3 separate regions of the Homo sapiens genome follow, and all the other regions are linked to region 1. Evidence: promoter capture Hi-C in 16 types of primary human blood cells and fetal thymus (Javierre and others, 2016). All regions are on one chromosome and are shown on one strand. Each heading gives the region's core, a stretch centred on a gene start or on the middle of the fragment in contact. The rest is flanking DNA. Distances are from core to core; before and after follow the strand shown.

What was found. Contacts are between HindIII fragments. The CHiCAGO score rates a contact against its expected background, and 5 or more counts as called.
Region 2: a contact is called between a fragment that was not itself captured here and the fragment with the promoter of MED9 in region 1, in 2 of 17 cell types (monocytes and neutrophils). The highest score is 6.7, in monocytes.
Region 3: a fragment that was not itself captured here is called in contact with the fragment with the promoter of MED9 in region 1 in 1 of 17 cell types (M0 macrophages); the score reaches 5.1 in M0 macrophages.

Annotation. Positions count from the first base shown.
Region 1 is chr17:17,475,259-17,478,302 of GRCh38, forward strand. It overlaps MED9 (mediator complex subunit 9), which reads left to right and starts at 1,742. Exons shown (of 2, transcript NM_018019.3): 1 at 1,742-2,007. The coding sequence starts at 1,784. RefSeq lists an enhancer at 1,746-1,845. The HindIII fragment of the contact is 9,122 bases long and covers 511-3,044 here.
Region 2 is chr17:17,635,360-17,638,469 of GRCh38, forward strand. No RefSeq gene overlaps it. Among named protein-coding and RNA genes, the nearest start is that of SMCR2, 41 kb to the right of the region's middle. The HindIII fragment of the contact is 7,472 bases long and covers 1-3,110 here.
Region 3 is chr17:17,671,004-17,673,822 of GRCh38, forward strand. No RefSeq gene overlaps it. Among named protein-coding and RNA genes, the nearest start is that of SMCR2, 5.3 kb to the right of the region's middle. The HindIII fragment of the contact is 313 bases long and covers 1,330-1,642 here.

The DNA of each region.
Region 1 (3,044 bases), core at 492-2,991:
TTACTATTATTATTACTATTACTATATCATCTTTCCCCAGATGACTCCAAGGGTATACAGTCTCTTCAAGCACATCTGGCCTTTTTCTCCTCCATGCTCAACCAGAACTCTTGAACTTTCCCTTAGTTGGAGAGGTCAATGGTTAGAAGGAAGAAAACTCCGCAACCCACTCCCTCCCTTTGCTCTCTCTCTGGGGCACCGTGGGCAGCTCTTGCTGCAGAGAGCTGTGCTGAGGCCCTTTACTACAGAACCTGTACAGCGCACCCTCCAACAGCACTTCCATCTATGGTCCTACTCCCCAAGGATCTGCCTCCGCACAGCCCTCCCAATGTGCCTGAAAATATCAGCATTGATCCTTTCCCTGGCCACCTTGCTCTTAAGGCTCCTGTTCATCATGCTATGTGGATGTGGACCTCCTCGCCTCTCTGTACTGCCCATGATGGTGGATTACAGCAGAATGGGCTCACCAGTTGACAGCTTTCCCCACTCATGTCTTCTACTCACTAGCTAAGCTTGGGGTGGGTGTCCCCATTGCCCGGAAAATTACTACACAGCCCTCATATCAAACTTGTTTTGAGAAGCATAACCATAAACCCATCTTTGGCCTATGATCCTAGGGAGTCCTCATGCCAACAAGACCTTTTGGGGTCAGCCACGCATGTGAAGTTAGAATGCAGTTTAGGCTGTGCCATGAATCTGAACTAAATATGATTTTAGGGGTGAGGAAACTGGGACCTAGGGGCTTGGGGAACTGGCCCGAAGGTATGGAGAGTACCTGACCTTGTCGTTCTTCCAGGATATGATATTTACTCCTGGCACCAATCCCCTCTACCTTGTACTGAAAGCAAGGACAGCCTGCCTGCAACCACACATACAGGTGGCCATCCAGCAGGTGCATACTAAATGTGTGTTGAGTTGAATTATTAGACTCTTTCTAAGCAACCTTGCAGCATTGAAGGGACCGCAATCCCTTTGCCTCTGCGTCCTTAGGGCTAAACTCGAGGTCTCGATGTCTTGCACTGTGGGCTGGGCCGGGTTTGGTGCCTCACCCAGCAGGTAAGTGCTGTCTACGCCTCCCACAGGTCCAGTGGCTCCTCTCCAGACTTGGGTGCACTGGGCCAGGCTGCACCTTACTAATCTCAAGGCTTCCTGTGTTTGTGGCTTTGGGGCCCTCTTCATCGTGTGAATAGGAATAAGAAGATTGTTATTTCTGGCCGGGTGCAGTGGCTCACGCCTGTAATCCCAGCACTTTGGGAGGCCGAGACGGGCGGATCACCTGAGGTGGGGAGTTCGAGACCAGCCTGATCAACATGGAGAAACCCCGTCTCTACTAAAAATATAAAATTAGCCGGGCGTGGTGGTGCATGCCTGTAATCCCAGCTACTAGGGAGGCTGAGGCAGGAGAATCGCTTGAACCCGGGAGGCGGAGGTTGCGGTGAGCCGAGATCGCGCCACTGCACTCCAGCCTGGGCAACAAGAGCGAAATTCCGTCTCAAAAAAAAAAAAAAGATTGTTATTTCTGAAATAAACCCCTATTTCTCACTATTTAATAATTTAGCAATCTTGACTCACAATCCAAATCCAGGCACCCCAGACCCACCCACGGCCCGTTGCCTAGCAACAGCCTCCCCACCCCCGCCTCCGCGCCTTTTCCCGCCGACTGCCCAGTGCGCACGCTCAGAGCCTTCCTCCACACCCCGCCCCTGCAGGGCGCGCGGTGGTGACGTGTAGAGTGCGCGACGCTTTTGGCGACCCGACCTCTGGCTAACCTACCCCCGGAGCCATGGCCTCTGCTGGGGTGGCAGCCGGGCGACAGGCGGAGGATGTATTGCCGCCAACGTCCGACCAGCCGCTGCCTGACACCAAGCCGCTGCCGCCTCCTCAGCCGCCGCCGGTCCCTGCGCCTCAACCGCAGCAGTCGCCGGCGCCACGGCCTCAGTCACCTGCCCGCGCGAGGGAGGAAGAGAACTACTCCTTTTTACCTTTGGTTCACAACATCATCAAATGGTAAGAACCTAGGAGAGGACCAGGCCCCATACTCCCTCCAGCTTCTCCTCTCAGCCGTTTCAGAGCTGCAAGAGGCCTTGGCGCTCTGGGGCACGCCCCCGTTTCACAGATGGGGAAACTCAGACCCAGAGCGGGAAGAGGCCTTTCCCAAGACCACAGAGACATTCCATGAGTTAAGCAAACGATTTGAGCCTCGAGAGGTGCGATATCCTTAAGAATGAAGCCAGCTTAGAGACTAAATGCAGACTCTTGTCCAGCGGCTCAAATGTTCATCCCAGCGATCTTGAGCAAATTAAATCTCTTTAAGCCTCAGTTTTCTCACCTTTAATGTTGGTAATACTCACTTTAGTTCCTTAGTTCAGCAAACTCAACAGATAAGCATCATCTTCCCTGTGCCAAGTGCTACGGGATGGACGCAGTAAAAGGGGCCAACTTTTCACCCCCAAAGGTTTAGATAGAAGGAAAAAAAGACATGATTGGGAATAACCCACAATTCAAAAAGATTGAGACGGGAGTGGTGGCGATGGGAAACATTAGACTAAGCAGAAACACAGAAGTTGCCTCAGATGATTAGACCCACTTGTACTGACTTTGTTCTAACAGTACCAAAGGAAATAATTGTTGTCATCCTTTTGGCCAGCCTTCAGGGTAGCCTGAGTTTTCAAAGTGACTCTGTAGAGGAAAAACCAAAAACAAAAACACAAAAGTCTCACTGATCCTTATGTTTGCCTAAATTATTATTTTTTTTGAGAGAGGGTCTCGCTCTGTCACCCAGACTGGAGTACAGTGGCGTGATCTCGGCTCACTGCAGCCTCAACCTCCTGGCCTCAAGCCATCCTCCCACCTCATCCTCCCAAGTAACCGGAACCACAGGCATGAGCCATGGCACCCAGCGAATTTTTGTATTTTTTGTAGAGATGGAGTTTCACCATGTTGCCCAGGCTGTAAATTATTTTCATTATGTTACTTCACTGTATATCCACGTGATACTAGGTGTAAACCCCTAGGCTTGTAACTCTTACTCAACCATTAAAGAC
Region 2 (3,110 bases), core at 563-3,062, 160 kb after region 1:
TGTGTCAGGCACGGGGCTGGGGCCTGCCCGGCCATTCCATCACCTCCTCCAGGCTTCTGTATCTGCGCCCCTGTCCCTGAAATAGCATTTCCACCTGCCTTGGATGCTCTCTGAAAAATGCTCCCCAAAAGATGTTCATATCCTAATCCTGGAACTCATGAAGGTTTCTGCTATGGTTTGAATATGTTCCCCAGATTTCACGTGTTAAAACTTAATCGTGGGAGGCCGAGGCAGGCGGATCACGAGGTCAGGAAATCAAGACCATCCTGGCTAACATAGTGAAACTCTGTCTCTACTAAAAATACAAAAAATTAGCTGGGCGTGGTGGCGGGCGCCTGTAGTCCCAACTACTCAGAAGGCTGAGGCTGAGGCAGGAGAATGGCGTGAGCCCAGGAGGCGGAGCTTGTACCACTGCACTCCAGCCTGGGCGACAGAGTGAGACTGTGTCTCAAAAAAAAAAAAAAAAAATACTTAATTCCAGCTGGGTGTGGTGGCTTATGCCTATAATCCCAGCACTTTGAGAGGCTGAGGTGGGAGAATGGCTTGAGGTCAAGAGTTCAAGACCAGCCTGGGCAACATAGTGAGACCCCCCCATCTCTAGCCCCCCTAAAAAATGATTTAAAAAATCCCCAAATTCATATGTTGATTGGAGGTGGGGCCATTGGGAGGTCATTAGGATTAGATGAGGGCGTCAGGGTGGGGCCCCATGATGGGACTTGTGGCTTTATAAGAAGAGGAAGAGAGACTTGAGCTGGCACACTCTTGCCCTCTCGCCATGTGACACACTGTGCCGTTTCCTGACGCTGTAGGAAGGCCCTCACCAGATGTTGGCACCATGCTCTTGGACTCCCCAGCCTATAGAACCATGAGCTAAATAAACTTCTATTGCTTATAAACTACCAGTCTGTGATATTCTGTTATAACAACAGAGAATACACTAGACAGAAAATTGGTACTGAGAAGTGTTGCTAGTAACAAATACCCAAAAACACAGAAGCAGCTTTGAAATGAGTAGCATTACCCAATGGGCTGGAAGAATTTGGAGAAGCAGGCTAGAAAAGCCTGTATTGCTGTAAAAAGAGCATTAAGGGCAATTCTGGTGAGGTCTTCGAAAACAAGAAGACTAGGGGAAGTCTGGAACCTCTGCGAGATTACTTAAGTGGTCATGACCAGAATGCAGATAGAAATGTGGAGAATAAAGGCCACTCTGATGAAGTCTCAGATGGAACGGAGGAACAAGATATTGGAAACTGGAGTAAAGCCCGTCCTTGTTATAAACTGGCCAAGAACTTGGCTGGATTGTGTCTGTGCCAGGGACTCTATGGAATGCAGAATTTGAGAGCAATACATTAGGATATCTGGCAAAAGAACTATCTAAGCTGCAAAGTGTTCCGGCTGCTGCACAGCTACTTACATTAAGCTGCAAGAGGGAAAATGACTTAAAGATGAAATTTATAATCAAAAGGGAAGCAAAGCAGAAAGTCTTGGAAAATTCTCAGCCTGGCCACATAAAGAGAGAAGAGGCATGTTCAGGAGAGGGAACCAAAAGGGTGGCCCAGCAACTGTTCGCTAAGGAAATTAGTACAGGGAGAAAGATCGGCAAGAGAATAGAAGAAAGGTCGCGTGCGGTGGTTCATGCCTGTAATCCCAGCACTTTGGGAGGCTGACGTGGGCGGATCACGAGGTCAGGAGTTCGAGACCAGCCTGGCCAACATGGTGAAACCCCATCTTTACTAAAAATACAAAAATTAGCCAGACATGGTGGCGTGCGCCTGTAATCCTAGCTACTCAGGAGGCTGAAGCAGGAGAATTGCTCGAACCTGGGAGGTGGAAGTTGCAGTGAGCTGAGATCATGCCACTGCACTCGGGCCTGGGCGACAAGAGTGAGACTCTGTCTCAAAAAAATAAATAAATAAATAAATAAATAAATAAATGAGAGAATGGAAGAAAGACCCCGAAGCATTTCAAAGATCTTCCAAGCTGGCCCTCCCATCACAGACCCAGAGGCCTAGGAAGGAAGAATGGTTTTGGGGACAGGCCAGGCACCCTTCATGGATTTGCTGTCCAGGGCCCCCTAGAGTGTCCGTGCTCTCATGTAGTGTTTCCTCCACTGTCCCAGCTGTGGCACAAGCAGCCCCAGGTGTGGCTGGACCCACTGCTCTGGAAGATATAAGCCCATAGCCTTGGTGGCATCTGCATGGTGCTAATTCTACAGGCTCACAGAAAGCAAGAGCTGTGAGTATGGCAGCCTCTGCCTAGTTCAAAGGCTGTATCAGCCTTGTAGCCCAAGCAGGATTTGTTGCAGGGGTGGAGACACCACAAAAAGCCTCTCATGAAGGCAATGCCTGGTGGAGCTGAGGCAGTGAGACCATCACCAAGACCCGAGAACTGTACAGCTACCAGTGTGCAACGCCAGCCAGGGAGAGCTCAAGTGTGGGCTGGGCCCAGCAAAGCCATGGAAGCCAGGCTGCCCCAGGCCTTTGGGGCCCACCCCCCACCCCAGTATGTCCAGGAGGCGGAACACAGAGTGAAGGATTATTCTGGAGTCTTAAGGTGTGATGTTTAGCCCAGGCTTGGTGGCTCACTCCTATAATCCCAGCACTTGGGGAGGCCGAGGCTGGCAGATCACAAGGTCAAGAGATCGAGACCATCCTGGCCAACATGGTGAAACCCCGTCTCTACTAAAAATACAAAAATTAGCTGGGCGTGGTGGTGCACACCTGTAGTCCCAGCTACTCGGGAGGCTGAGGCAGGAGAATCACTTGAACCCGGGAGGCGGAGGTTGCAGTGAGCCAAGATCATGTCACTGCACTCTAGCCTGGTGACAGACAACAACAAAAAAGATACAATATCTACCCTGTTGTGTTTGGGCTTCTTTGGGACCATCTGCCCCTTTCATCATGCCTACTTCTGCTTTTTGGAATGGGAATGTCTATCCAATGCCTGTGCCACCACTGTATTTTGGGAGGAGATAACTTGTTTGATCTCACAGGGTCACAGCTGGAAGGAATTCATCGCAGGATGAATCGTACCTTCAGTCTCACCCATATCTCATTCAGATGAGACTCTGGACTGCAGACTTTTGAGTTGATGCTGGAGCAGGTTAAGAC
Region 3 (2,819 bases), core at 236-2,735, 200 kb after region 1:
AGGATTCTCCCCCAGAGCCTCGAGGAAGAGCCAGCCCTGCCCACACCTTGACTTTGGACTTCCGGCGTGCAGAACTGTAAGAGAATAGATGTGCATTGTTTTAAGCCACTGGGTTTGTGGTCATTTGTTCCAGCAGCCGCAGGAAGCACACACACACGCTGCCTCCTCTCCTCATCTGTAAAATGGGGCTGGTTCAGGACCTCCCCCCCGGGTTCTTGGGAAGCATAAGCGAGTTGGAAGGAGCAAAAAGCTTAGAAAAGTCAGGGATACTATTTTTTAAATTGCTATGCCACAGCGATTTGCTGAGGAAGACAGCATTCCTCCTGCCTTCAAGAAATTCGCCACCTGGAGCAAGGGAGACTCACAAAGAATCATGATCCCAGAGGCTGTTAGAGGCTTGTAGAGTAGGCCTGGGCACACTGCCCAGGGAGCGGGAGCCTGATTTGACCGGGGGGCCTGGGAGGGCATCCTGGAGGAGCCCACTCTTGAGCTAAGCCTGGAAGGATATGGAGGGAGGAGCCAGACAGAGCAAGAGGGGAAGGGCATCTTGGGCAGAGGGAACAGCACGTGGGGCTGCTCAGAGGAGTAAGGGAAGAGGTAGTTGAGGAACCTGCAAGTCAGTCTGCAGGGATGGGGCCTTGGGGGCATCACGGAGGTGGGGGCAAGCCAGGGAGCCACATACTGGAAAGGAACAATTGCTTGGGCCACCGTGAGGAGGGTGAATGGGGGTTTGAGACCGAAGGCAAGGAAACCAGTTGCAGAGATTGTGGTCTGGCAGGTAGTGAAGGGTAAAATCAGTGGAATTTCAGGACAACCTGAAGAAGGTGGGTGAGCAGAGGCAGTGGAGGGTTGGCAACTTCCTGCCAAGGGGAAGGGATGGGGGTGGAGCAATTCCCGAGATGGCAATGACAGTGATAATGACAACTAGTGCTAAAATTAGTGCTTACTATATGCCAGGGAATGTGCAAAGTGCTTGATACGCCTTATCTCAGTCTCAATCCTGGAATTGTGATTATCAGCAGGGAATAGAGCCCAGAGATGGAATCCAGAGCTGGGAACAGCGAGGTGTGGGAGGCTGGGTGGCGGGGGTGGGGAGGGGAGGTGAGGAAATGGCTTTCATATAAACAAGATGAAAAACTGTTCAGGGACTGCTCTTGTCATACTTTTCTATTATTAAAAAAGAAAGAAAACACATGTTTTATTAGTAGCTAAGCACTTTTATTTAATAACAAAAAATCTGTAGGGCCTGAAAGCATGGCAATTCTAACCCCTCTATTTAAAAAAGACCTCTGAAGTACATATCCCTTAGGACTGTGCATGGGTAGTCAAAGCTTAATGACCAGCGGGGGATCAGGAGGGTGGAGGGGTCTGTGGTCAGCAGCTCGGCTGTCCTGGTGGTTTTATTTCTTGAGCTGACAGTGGTGAATGCAGGAGTGATCAGTGAATTATCTTCCATACCTTCTTGAATATCTTAAATATTTTATAATTAAAGATTGGGTGTGACTGATATTCTCCGGCTCTACATGAAAGCTGGTTGGAGGTACTAAGTCACATTCACAAATTACAGGATCTCTGTCCTCCTAGTCAGCCTGAGTTTCTTTCACCACATCCTGGCTCTGTTTGCATACCCCCAGAAACGGGAAGCTTCCTCTCTCTCTCTTGAAATTGCCTGGGGCCCTCTTTGAACAGCTCTAATTGTGGGAAAGTTCCTCATAAAGAGCCAGAAGCCTGGTCCAGTCCCTCTGCCCACTGGAACCACACAGTCTGTGTGTGATCACACAAAGCCCAGGCGGCCCTTTAGATCTTTGAAGACAGTGCTCATTCTCCTTTTCTCCCCATTCCAAATTTTTCTTCTCTGTGTAAAGTCTCAGTTCTTTTTCAGGCAAGTGACAGAAAACCAGCTCAAACTGGTTTATGATAAAAGGTGAATGTATTGGCTCAAGTGACTTAAAGTCCTGGGGTTGCTGAGCTTCAGGCGCAGCTGAATCCAGGTGCCCAGAAGGTGTCTCCATGTCTCTCAACTCCTCATTCTTCCCCATTGGCTCTGTTTTCAGACCCACAGTCTCAACAACTACCCCTGGAGGCTCCAGCAAAGCTCAGTGCTTCCAGCAAAACTCCTGGAGGGCTTAGGTCATTCGAACCATTCCTGAACCAATCCCTGTGGCCAGGCAAATGGGGCAGTTTGGTCAAACCTGAGTCACGTGACAATCTCTGCATCCTAGAGGTAGGGACCGCCCAGCCTGAACCACATGGGCCATAAGTGGGAAAGAATGGTGCCCACAGGAAAATTGATTGTAATTACCACCAAAAGACTAGATGTATTAGGTAGGACAGAGGCTTTATAACAGAGATCCACAATAACACCGGCTTAAACAAGATGGAATTTTATCCCTCGCTAACTCCAGATGCAAGAGATCTTGGGCTGATACAGTTAATTGTATGATTAGGGTGCCCCATAGCTGAGCATTCATTATCTGAGTTGGAAGTTAAGAGTTGTTAAAACATGAATATATTTAGTACTGTCCTGGCCACTTACTTCGTTCCCAGTCAAGCATCTCACCCTACCTAGCACCAGCATCTGTCCACCCCCCATCTGCATCTCTTCTGTCTGTCAGGTCTGCTTATGCAAGCTGGTAGCAAAGGAAAACTTCAAAGTTGTAGAATTTCTTGAAGTTGATGAGAGTTACGTTGGAGAGCTCCTGGGTTCTGCACACAGTGGCTGACAAACCAAGGATCTATCTATCTGGCTGGGTCAGCCCTGTCTAAATAATGAAAACCCCCAACGTGAAGAAAGATGAACCTGTGCTTTGGAAGAAAAT